Regions from separate parts of the Homo sapiens genome. Here all the other regions are linked to region 3. Evidence: promoter capture Hi-C in human tissues and cell types (Jung and others, 2019). All regions are on one chromosome and are shown on one strand. Each heading gives the region's core, a stretch centred on a gene start or on the middle of the fragment in contact. The rest is flanking DNA. Distances are from core to core; before and after follow the strand shown.

Region 1 (2,700 bases), core at 82-2,581, 560 kb before region 3:
ACATTTATCCATTTATTTAAAGGATATTACAGAAGACACAGATGAACAGCCAGATGGAATAGATAGATGCATAGGGCAAGGTATGGGGGAAGGGGCATGGAGTTTCCATGCCATCTCCAGGCATGCCACCCTCCAGAACTTCCAAGTGCTCAGTAATTCGGAAGCTTTCTGAACCCACTCCTTTCGGGTTTTTATGGAGGCTTCACTAGGTAGGGCATGATTAATTACATCATTGGTCATTGATGATCGACTCAACCTTCAGCCTCTCTCCTCTTCCAGGAGGTCAAAGGATGGAGCTGAGAGTTCCAATCCTCTAATCACAGAGTTGGTTCCCCTGGCAACCAGCCCCCATCCTGAGGCTACCCAGGAGCCCACCAAGTCACCTCATTAGAACAAAAGATGCTCCTATTACCCAGGAAATTCCAAGGGATTTAGGAGCTCTGTGTCAGGTGCTTACACCACTAAGAAAATTACAGAGGAAAGGTCTTAGGAGCACTTTTGTCTTGAGGGTGAAAAACCAAATATCGGAACAAAAGATTCCTCTAGCGCCCCTATCTACAAGGCCTTTAGGATTCTGTGCCAAGAACAGGTAGGTGGGCGGAGAGGGAAGGGCAGAGACCAAATATATGTTTTGCATTATATCACAATATCATAGCTCCATAATAAAATTTTTAAAGTAAATAAATAGGTGAGGTTAACTGATCAGAACTTGGAGCTAGAGAATGGAAGTTCTGATACGACAGCTCAGCCGTTGTCCTAGATGAAATCTGAGCTACCAAGTTGAAAGAAAGCTTGAGCAGTTGTCTTTTCCCCATTGTTCCAAGCTGTATCCTGTAGTGCTCTCATTTAAGTATTTCTGCTCTGGTGAGATCCTCTTTGCTCTGACTCCACACCAGCTGAGCACAGATGTTCACTCCCTGTGTTAGGGAATGTGAACCAGGTCTTGGTTTCTGCTTATGCAGTCACTCAAGAAATAGACATCAAGTACTGAGTCTTCTTCCATGGCTGTCTGTGGAAACCTTTGTTCCCCTCTGCTGGATGTGGCAAATGCTGGCTGTTGCTCTGAGGCTGAGCTTTCTGTCATTCTCACATGAGCTCTCTCTCTGGGTTGCTGCAATCTCCATTTTCTCATGCTGAGGTGACAAGAGGTGCTCTTCAAACTCTTCTGGCAGAGCAAGTGCCTTTCTGAGAAGAGCACAAACCTGAAGCAGAGCCATCCCTCAGAAACCACAGAAACAGTGACAGTTCCTATGGCACAGTTTTAAACACAGCAGCAGCAGCCCAGGAACGCTGAGGGCCGACATCATTCACTCCACCAAAACACAAGTTTCGAAGGCAATTCTGGTTCATGATTAGGTCTACTTCATTATCTGTCTGTAAGGCAGGTGTTTGGGAGACAGTAAGCTTTAATGAAAAGAGAGTACATCCTGTATCAGTCCAAGTTTCTTGGTTTCAAACCATAGGCACCATTTCTGGCTGATTTAAGCAAGATGAGAATTTACTGGAAGGATGTCTTGGTAGCTTACAGATTCTCCAAAAAAGCTGGGAAACCAAGTTAACAAAACAGGCAGGAACAAAGAAACAAAGTTTCCTGGGACCCACCTAAAATGAACTGCCCCTGCATCTAAATACTAAAACCTCCAGCACTGTTGCCGACACTGGTCCTAGGTCTTGTCATGGTCCCTGCTTCGTCACTTCACTCACTCCTGATTCAAGTCCAAGTCGAGGGCATCTGACAGAATAAGCCCTGCCTTCCAAGTAGGATGGCAAAGGAGTGTCAGGCCTTTTCTGCCTCCATGCTGGCTTCTACACATGGGTGTCATTCCAGTGAAGTACTAATTTCACATGTGTTGCCCTATGATGCTGAGCAGCTGATCTCCCATGCCGTTTAGATGTAGAATAGACTCCAAGACTAATGCAGAAGAAGCTACCCTTGAGGTTCTGTCGAAGACTATCTACTGTGTGGAGGGAAAGCCTCCTTCTTAGGGCAAAATTAGGGCATATGAGCAAGAAGAATGCGAAATTGTTATGCTTCAGACCCTCAAAGGGGCTGCCTTCTGTAGTCACCACTTGTCCTCTCCTCACCTGTGAACTTCTAACATTTGCATTCAATGTTTGTTACGTAATCATTTTTTATTGTAAATTTTCTTTCATTGACAAGAAAATGATGAAAGAGGAGAGCAAAGGGACCATGGTGATAACCTGCCTTTTTCAATTTTTCTCCAAAATAAAGAAGAAATGAAAGGTATTTACTCACCCTGAAAACAGTTCAAGAGCCTAGATCCATGGGCATCTGCCTTTCCTGATTTGGGAAGAAGATCTCTGCCACTCCCCAATGTGGCCAGAGAGCACAGTGGCAACACAGGCTTCTGACCACACACATTTGAATTCTCAGTCATCTTTGCTGCCATTCCGGCAGACACCAAACTCACACACAGCCTGAACACAGTTATTATAATGAGCCTGTGCTTACTTTGCAAGATCGTCAAGAGTTAAACCAAGTCTGAACTCTTCATTTGCAATATCATACAGTTCACAGATGGAATAATCCATGATTGCGTCTTGGACTACTTTAGAATTAAACTTGCAAGTTTGGAATATTGAAGCAAACCTGAACTGCCTGTTTCCAGTTCCCTTCTTCATTCATATCAATGATCAATGCCTCTGTGTCTGCATTTATAACTCTACTTGACCCCCTGC
Region 2 (2,700 bases), core at 112-2,611, 660 kb before region 3:
TCAAACAGTTCCCTTTTTTTAGTTCATTTCTCCCTATCTTTATCTAAACATACATAGATCCAGTTGGCACTTTCAAAATACTGCCTGAAAAGTTTTCATATTCACCAGTTCATTATGTATAATTTTTCTATTTTTTATGTCACTGCAGGCAAAATCCTCTTTCCACTCAATTCCAGTAACCTTTTCTCTTTCCTTTAAACCCTCACTCACAGTCCCGTAAGGGCCGTCAGACTGCAGCTAACAGTTTCTTCAAGGCCCTTCCAATATTTGCCCACCTTCCAGTTCCAAAGCCACTATCACATAATTTAGGCTTTGCTATGGCAGCACCCCAGATACCACTTCCAGATACCAAACTCCTCACTAGTTATTTACTGGTGCATAATACACTGTGCCAAAACTTAGTGGCTTAAAATGACAAAAATTATTTATTTTTGCCCCAGAATCTTCTATTTAGGCAAGGCTCAGTGGAGAACGCTGATCTCTGCTCCAATTGGCATTAGCTAAAAAAGCTCGACTGTCAGCCAGAGGATCAGGCTCCTACAGGGTGCATTTGGCTGGCAATTTGGTCCTGACTATTGGCTGGAAGTTTAGCCTGGGTTGAGGCTTAATACAGCTACAAAATGTGTTTGTGGTCATTTACTTACAAATCCAATGGAATTGAATATTTTTATACACTTTACGTGGAGCAAATTAAAATATGTGCTGTGGGGTGTGTGTTTGTGTGTATGAGTGTGTGCAGCACATATGTTTTGTGGATGCCAAAGCAACTCTACCTTGAGTGCTAAGTGTCCGTGTTGACTTCTGATTAACCCCAATTCTGGGAAAACCTCTAAGATTTCCAGTTTAAATCCTGCCCTTAGGTCACACAACCTTGATGTTATTATGCTTACCATAAGTCCTGCCTTTAAATGATTGTTTTACATATCCCTTCTGAATCATGTATACCCTTTCCCTATGGTATATAACCCCTTCATGTGGCCCGGACTTCATCATTACAGAATGACTGAAGACCAAGAGTGAGCACCCCAAGAGAGAAAGATAACCTTTTATGATCTAGCCTCAGTAGCCACAGAGCATTACTTCACCCACATACTATTAGTTGGATGGTCACAAAAGCCTGACCAGATTCAGTTGGAAGGGACACAGACTTCATCTCTTGAAGTGGGTATACTAAGATGTTGGAAGAGCACATGGAATGTAAAGAAAAGACAATCTGCCACACTTTTTAAAATTTAATTAAATGATTTTAGTTTTATTTGTTTAAAGCCACAAAATCTTTTTTTAGCATTGCTTTTCAAAATTTTACTAAAATTTTTTAATTGAAGCATAATCGACATCGACTATACTTAATCTATGTATAGTCCAATTTGATAAGCTTTGACATATGTATGTATCTGTAAAATGAATACCGCAATCAAGATAATGAGCAAATCTATTACCCCTAAAAGTTTAAAATTTAATTATATATTTTTTGATATTTAAAAATTTATATGGTTCAGAAGTCAACACTATATAAAAAGGTATCCATCGAGAGGTTTCATTCCCTTTTCTATCCCTATAGATAACATTTTCATTGTTTTTTGATTTATACTTTGGGTTTATGTTTTAAATTCCAGAAACACACACACACACACACACACATTCCTATTGCCAATTCTTTCTTACAAAAAACAGATATTATATATATTATATGATAGATGTTACATCTTGGTAATTGCTATATAACCTTTTATCAAGGTCTTCCTCATTCTCTTTTTATGGCTGTATAGTACTCCATTGTAGGCATGTACCAGAGTTTATTTCATTTTTCTTTTATAGGTAGTCATTTGTTGTCAAGCTTTTGAATTTGTGCCAATATGATAAGTAAAAAGTAATACCTCAGTGTAGTTTTAATTTTAATCACTTTATAGTATATATCTTTTTTTGAAGGGTCTCTTCATCACTTTTGCTGATTTTTTCTATTGGGTTATCTAAATTTTAATAATTTATATTAATTTTAACAATTCTTTATACACAAGAGAAATTCATCTCCTATCTGTGGTATCTATTGAAAATATTTATCTCCTATCTGTGGTATCTATTGAAAATATTTTCTGCCCATTTTCCCCTTGTCTTTTGTCTTTGCTTTTTGTGTTTTCTGCCTGACAAAATCTTTTTTCTGTAATGTCATCAATTTTACTCACGCTTTCTTATTATAAAGAGAAACAAATAATTTTAACTGTATATAAATTAGATAACATGACCACATAGGGGAAAAAAAACTGAGTTAAGTAATTTTTGAACCAAGTACTTTGGTTATACATCCTTAGTAGGATATATTGTTGTTAGTGGTGTTAATGTGTTAATTTGGAGATATATATTTTGTATACAGTATATCATAAGACAGAGCAAATGAATTACTATATTTATGTGATTGGGAGAAGGCAGAGACCTGTCATACACATCCTCAGCCTCACTAATAATTCAGCAACAGCTGTGTGAGTGGTTGCGGGCAAGCTTCAAACCAGTTCAAATTGACATCTCATTTCAAGTGTGCACCACTGGTCTCTCACTTCCTGCCCCAGAACTTCTTTGCTGTGGGATGCCTGTGGGAACCCATATGATATTCCCACATTGTGATTCAAGGGAGCAGGTGAGTTAACGCCTCCTAAGTAACTCTCAACCAACTGGGGTAGGAGCTGAGAGAAATGCTTCTCTCTT
Region 3 (2,700 bases), core at 68-2,567:
GGAAGCGCCCACGTGTGGCCTGGTCCTCCGCCCTCCCGGGTGAAAGTCCTGGAGAGATTTCTCGGGCGCGTCCGTGAAAGCAGGGCACTAATGGGGAGCCTACCTCTTAAAACAGCGCACTTGCCCTACGGACGAGCCTCTAGGCCCTGGTGGTCTGGAATGGGAGTGGGTTGGAGCTGGGACAAGAAAACTCCACTCCAGGATGAAACGCGACATGCAAATCTTCACCGGGTTAAACAAACAGCCGAGCAAGCTGCAGCTTCAGCGGAGGTGGAGGTGGGGGCGGACGCCGCTCGCGCCGGTCTCTGTTTCCAAAGTTGTTACAGTGAGAAAATAAGCGGCTTCGTGCAGCGTGTTGTATGGGCTGATGCCTCCCACCCCCATGCCAGCCCACAGCAAAACCCGGCAGATAATCAGCACATCCCACTGTTTAGTCATATTTGACAACTGGGTTAACCTGGTATCTAAGCGCTGGCGAAACCGTACAAAGGGTGCCCTCAATTACCACCAGAAGCCTCTAGCGTGAGTGGCACTTGTATTACCCCCCGGGTCAGAGGCCAGAGCGACAATTAGGAAGTCACTTACACCGCTGGGGGGAAATGGCGGGATGCAGCAGGCTCCAGGCCCTCCCAACAAATCTGTGGATGTAGATCTGTACAGAGAGGCCTATTTCGCTCCTCTCGGAGGAGCTGTCCCTTCGCGCCCCCTCCCCAGTATAACTGTGAGAGTGAAATTGAATCTAGTGGAATAAGGAATTGGGTAGAAGACACACGAAAATGATAAAAATCACAAGCAAGAATGATAGATACAAGCTGAAGTTGTGTTCTGTAGGCAAAAGCCTGGACACACAAAGTGAGGGCTCACATTTCCGTCTCCACTTGGGCCCTGCTGGTGCGGGCTGTGTCTGGGTGTCTCCTCCCCTCCTGCCTCCTTTCCTACAAGTGGGGAGTCGAGTAGGACTGTCAGCCCTAACTTGCAACATCTCGGGGTGGTTTGTGTGTGGGGGGGTGCTTGTGGCTCGGTTTCATTGGTACTTAAACCTGGCTTGGTGCGTGAGTGTAAATTTTTAATTGCACTGTAATTTCTTCAGTCCCCAGCCCGCCCTCGCCCCCCCCCCGCAAGTATCCCCCACTACTCCCCCCCACCCCCGCGGCCCTAGCTAGCTGACTTGACTGGCACGCGCCGGGAGCCCGGGCTCGGGCCCCTCGGAGCGTCTGATTGGCTGCGGGGCAGCTCCGGTCTGCTCTGCCTGCGCCCTCATTGGGCGAGAGGCGCAGCCAGCGGCACTTCAAAGCGGGTGCTCCTCGCACTTAGGCTGAGTTTAGCCGGCGGGAGCCTGGAGTCCGCTCGGCACGAGCGCGGGGACGCGGGAGCCGCGCGGGACCCAAGCAGTTTTTCCGAGCAGCCGCCAGGCTCAGCCCCGCTCCCAGCCTCGCTGCGCAGCCAGAGACCTGCTATGGCCACGTCTATACTCGGGGTAAGTCGCAAGCGCGGCAACGCATTTGCTTGTTTTAACCGGAGTAATTTTTCGTTATGGCTTCTGGGGTCTGCGGCTCCGGAGAAACTGTTGCTGCTAGACTGCAGCTTCAGCTTCTATTAGCACTTTCCACATTTCTGGGACTGATTTTTCCCCAAGTTTTTGGAACCCAGAAAGATGCCTTTGCAAGAAAAGGCCTTCTTAATCAAGTCCTTTTTCATTTGGTTTCAAAAAAAAGCTAGAGGTTTCTTTTCTTCCCCTCGTGATTTATACCCCATCCCCCGCATTGCTTTGGGGATTTTGTTGCAATTATGCGACAATGGTGTTTCCAGAAAACAGTCTTAATCGTTTTGCAGTCCATCTAGTCACGCTAATAAACATTTACATTTCCGCGGCTCCCCAATTCGCCCATGACTTTGAAATCTGTCTCTGGCCGCTTATCCTCGGATTATTGTTTTCATAATCGCTGTTTTTGTGTGTATGTAAACTTTAAAACCAAACGTTTTCTATTAAAAAAGAAAAGTCAAGTCGTAGCCACCCTGGGAGAGCTGCAAGTTTCGCCCGTCCCTGGCAGCTGTTTCGGCCGCCTCCGCCCTCACCCGGTGTTTGTTGTCTCTGGTCTCTGTGTTTACCTTCGCGCTTCACCCCGAAGGGCGACTTGGGGTCTTCTGGGAGATGAGCCGGTTTACGGCGACAACCCAAGTCCGGTTGTAGGCAGGGTTGCAGCGGGGAACACGGAGGCATCTTTGATTTATAGCCTCAGCGAAGTGCAACTTTCCGGCGCCTGGACCTTCGCCCGGGTGATCGCCCCTGCTCCGCGCCCGGTGCGGCGACTCCTCCGCGGGCGCGTGGGGAGGAGGCGCGAGGCGGGGAGCCAGGACCCCCCGGGAGCAGCCGCAGGGGACGAGGCTGCTCACGGGTGCACTTTGTTTCTTCCCCCACTTCCTCTTGCCCTCCTCCTTCTTGCTCCCTCCCCCATCCCACCCACTCTAGGAAGAGCCGCGCTTCGGAACGACCCCGTTGGCCATGCTGGCGGCGACCTGCAACAAGATCGGCAACACGAGCCCGCTGACGACGCTGCCAGAGTCGAGCGCCTTCGCCAAAGGCGGCTTTCACCCCTGGAAGCGCTCCTCGTCCAGCTGCAACCTCGGCTCCAGCCTCTCGGGCTTCGCGGTGGCCACCGGGGGCCGTGGCTCGGGCGGCCTGGCGGGCGGCTCGGGCGC
Region 4 (2,700 bases), core at 184-2,683, 740 kb before region 3:
GGCTCCTATTTATTTATGCAAATTTATGCAGCAGGCTTGAATTCCTCCCCCAAAAAGTGGATTTTTCTTTTCTACCACATAGGCTGAAAATTTTCCAAACTTTTATGCTCTGCTTCCCTTCTAAATATAAGTTCCAGTTTCAGATAATCTCTTTGTGCACACATATGAGTGTATGCTGTTAGAAACAGCCAGACCACAACTTGAACACTTTTTGCTGAGAAATTTCTTCTGCCAGATACTCTAATTCATCTCTCTCAAGTTCAAAGTTCAACAAATCCCTAGAGCAGGGGCACAATGCCACCAGTCTCTTTGCTAAAGCATAGCAAGAGTGACCTTTACTCCAGTTCCCAATAAGTTCCTCATCTCCATCTGAGACCTCTTCAGCCTGGACTTCATTATCCATATCACTATAGCATTTTGGTCACAACCATTCAACAAGTCTATAGGAAGTTCCAAATTTTCCTTCATCTTCCTGTTTCCTTCTAAACCCTCCAAACTGTTTCAACCTCTGTCCACTACCCAGTTCCAAAGCTGCTTCCACATTTACTGGTATCTTTATAGATACCACATTTACTAATATCTTTATAACAATGCCCCACTTCTCTGGTACCAATTTTCTATATTATTCTATTCACACACTGCTGTAAAGACATATCTGAGCCTAGGTAACTTATAAAGAAAAAAGTTTAATTGGCTCACAGTTCTGTGGGCTGTACAGGCTTCTGCTTCTGAAGAGTACTTAGGAAACTTACAATCATGGTAGAAGGTGAAGGGGAGGCAGGCACAGTCTTCATATGGTGGCAGGAGAGAGAGAGCAAAGGGGTAGAAGCTACACACTTTCAAACAATCAGATCTTGTGAGAACTCTATTATGAGAACAGCAACGGGGAAGTCCGCCCCCATGACTCAATCACCTCCCACCAAGCCCCTCCTCTAACACTGGGCATTACAGTTCATCATGAGATTTGGGTGGGGACACAGAGCCAAACCATATTAGTGTCTTTACCCGTGAACATGAAATAATAAGATTGATGTAACAGGATTACTGTGAAGCTTAAATGAGATGATGCATGTAGGTGCCTAGAACTGCCTGCCACTCTCGAGGACCTCACTAAATGCAAGTTCTTTATAGTCCTTCCTCACAGTTAGCATCTGGCCTGGTGGTGCACACACTAACAGGGGGGTTTCTTATAAGGACACAGGACAATCTCATGAATTGGCTTCCTGCGTGTGGCTCTTGGTTTGTTCTTCCCCATAATGGAGGCCCGTCTGTGACTTCATCTTGCGATGGTGCTCACTCCAGCTCTGATATTACATGCTCTTGCACCTCAGCTCTCCAAAGTTAGCCGATCATTTTCACAGAAATAGGAAAACCAATCCTAAAATTTGTGTAAAACCACAAAGGTCCCTGAATAGGCAAAGAAATCTTTGGTAAAAAGAGCAAAGCTGAAGGCATCACACTACCTAACTCCAAAATGTATTACAAAACTATAGAAACCAAAACAGCAAAACACTGGCATAAAAACAGACAAAAACCAATGAAACAGGATAGAGAGCCCAGAAATAAACCCACATGTTTATGGTCAATTGATTTTCAACAAGGCTGCCAAGAACGCACAATAGAGAAAGGACAATCTCTTTAATAAATGATGTTGGGAACATTGGATATGCATGCAGAAGAATGAAATTGAACCCTTACCTCACATGATACACAGAAATGAACTCAAAATGAATTAAAGACTTAAATGTGACACTTGAAACTGTAAAACTACTAGAAGAAAACGTAAAGGGAATGCTCCACAATATTGTTCTGGGGGCAAACATTTCTTGGATGTGACCCCCAAAGCACAGGCAACAAAAGCAAAAAATAAACAAAAAGTATGTCATCAAACTGAAAAGCTTCTGCATGGCAAAAGAAGCAATAGAATGAAGAGACAACTCATGGATTGGGAGAAAATATTTGCAAGCCACATATCTGATAAGGGGCTAATATCCAAAATATATAAGAAACTCAAATAACTCAATTGCAAGAAAATAAAGAACCCAATTTAAAAAATGGGCAAGAGACTTAAATAGACATTTCTTAAAAAAAAAAGACATGTAAATGGTCAACAGATATATGAAAAATCATCATCTTCACTAATTATCAGGGAAACACAAATTAAAACTGCAATGAGATATCACTTCATACCTGTTAGAATGGCTATTTTAGTAAAAAGATGGACAATAACTTTTATTGGCAAGGATGTGGAGGAAAGGGAACACTTGTGCACTGTTGGTGGGAATGTAAATTAGTACAGCTATTATGGAAAAGAGTATGGAGGTTCCTCAGAAACTAAAAATAGAATTACCATATGATCCAGCAAACCCACTTCAGGATATGTATCCAAAAGAACGGACATCAGTATGTTAAGAGATACCTGCACTCCCATCATATTCATTGCAATGTTACTAGCAATAGCAAAGATATGGAATTAACCTAAGCATCCACCATCAGATGAATGGATAAGGAAAATGTGGTATATAAACAATGGAAGATTTTTCACTCTTGAAAAAGAAGGAAATCCTGGCATTTGCGGCAATATGAATGAACCTGGAGGACATTACGCTAAGCGAAATAAGCCAGGCATAGAAAGGCAAAGACTGTGTGATCTCACTTACTTGTGGAATCTAAAAATGTTGACCCCATAGAAATAGGGAG

What was found. The method cuts DNA at HindIII sites, captures the fragments that hold promoters and counts their contacts. A contact is called where the count stands out against the background at its distance.
Region 1: a contact is called between a fragment that was not itself captured here and the fragment with the promoter of SP9 in region 3, in 1 of the 25 tissues and cell types used here (thymus).
Region 2: a contact is called between a fragment that was not itself captured here and the fragment with the promoter of SP9 in region 3, in 1 of the 25 tissues and cell types used here (mesenchymal stem cells).
Region 4: a fragment that was not itself captured here is called in contact with the fragment with the promoter of SP9 in region 3 in 1 of the 25 tissues and cell types used here (lymphoblastoid cells).

Annotation. Positions count from the first base shown.
Region 1 is chr2:173,770,285-173,772,984 of GRCh38, forward strand. No RefSeq gene overlaps it. Among named protein-coding and RNA genes, the nearest start is that of SP3, 190 kb to the right of the region's middle. The HindIII fragment of the contact is 5,425 bases long and covers 1-2,700 here.
Region 2 is chr2:173,670,612-173,673,311 of GRCh38, forward strand. No RefSeq gene overlaps it. Among named protein-coding and RNA genes, the nearest start is that of SP3, 290 kb to the right of the region's middle. The HindIII fragment of the contact is 3,132 bases long and covers 1-2,700 here.
Region 3 is chr2:174,333,637-174,336,336 of GRCh38, forward strand. SP9 (Sp9 transcription factor) reads left to right here and starts at 1,318. Exons shown (of 2, transcript NM_001145250.2): 1 at 1,318-1,477; 2 at 2,471-2,700. The coding sequence starts at 1,457. LOC102724194 (a long non-coding RNA gene) reads right to left here and starts at 1,340. Exons shown (of 3, transcript XR_427194.5): 1 at 104-1,340. The HindIII fragment of the contact is 14,947 bases long and covers 1-2,700 here.
Region 4 is chr2:173,593,413-173,596,112 of GRCh38, forward strand. No RefSeq gene overlaps it. Among named protein-coding and RNA genes, the nearest start is that of CDCA7, 240 kb to the left of the region's middle. The HindIII fragment of the contact is 5,269 bases long and covers 1-2,700 here.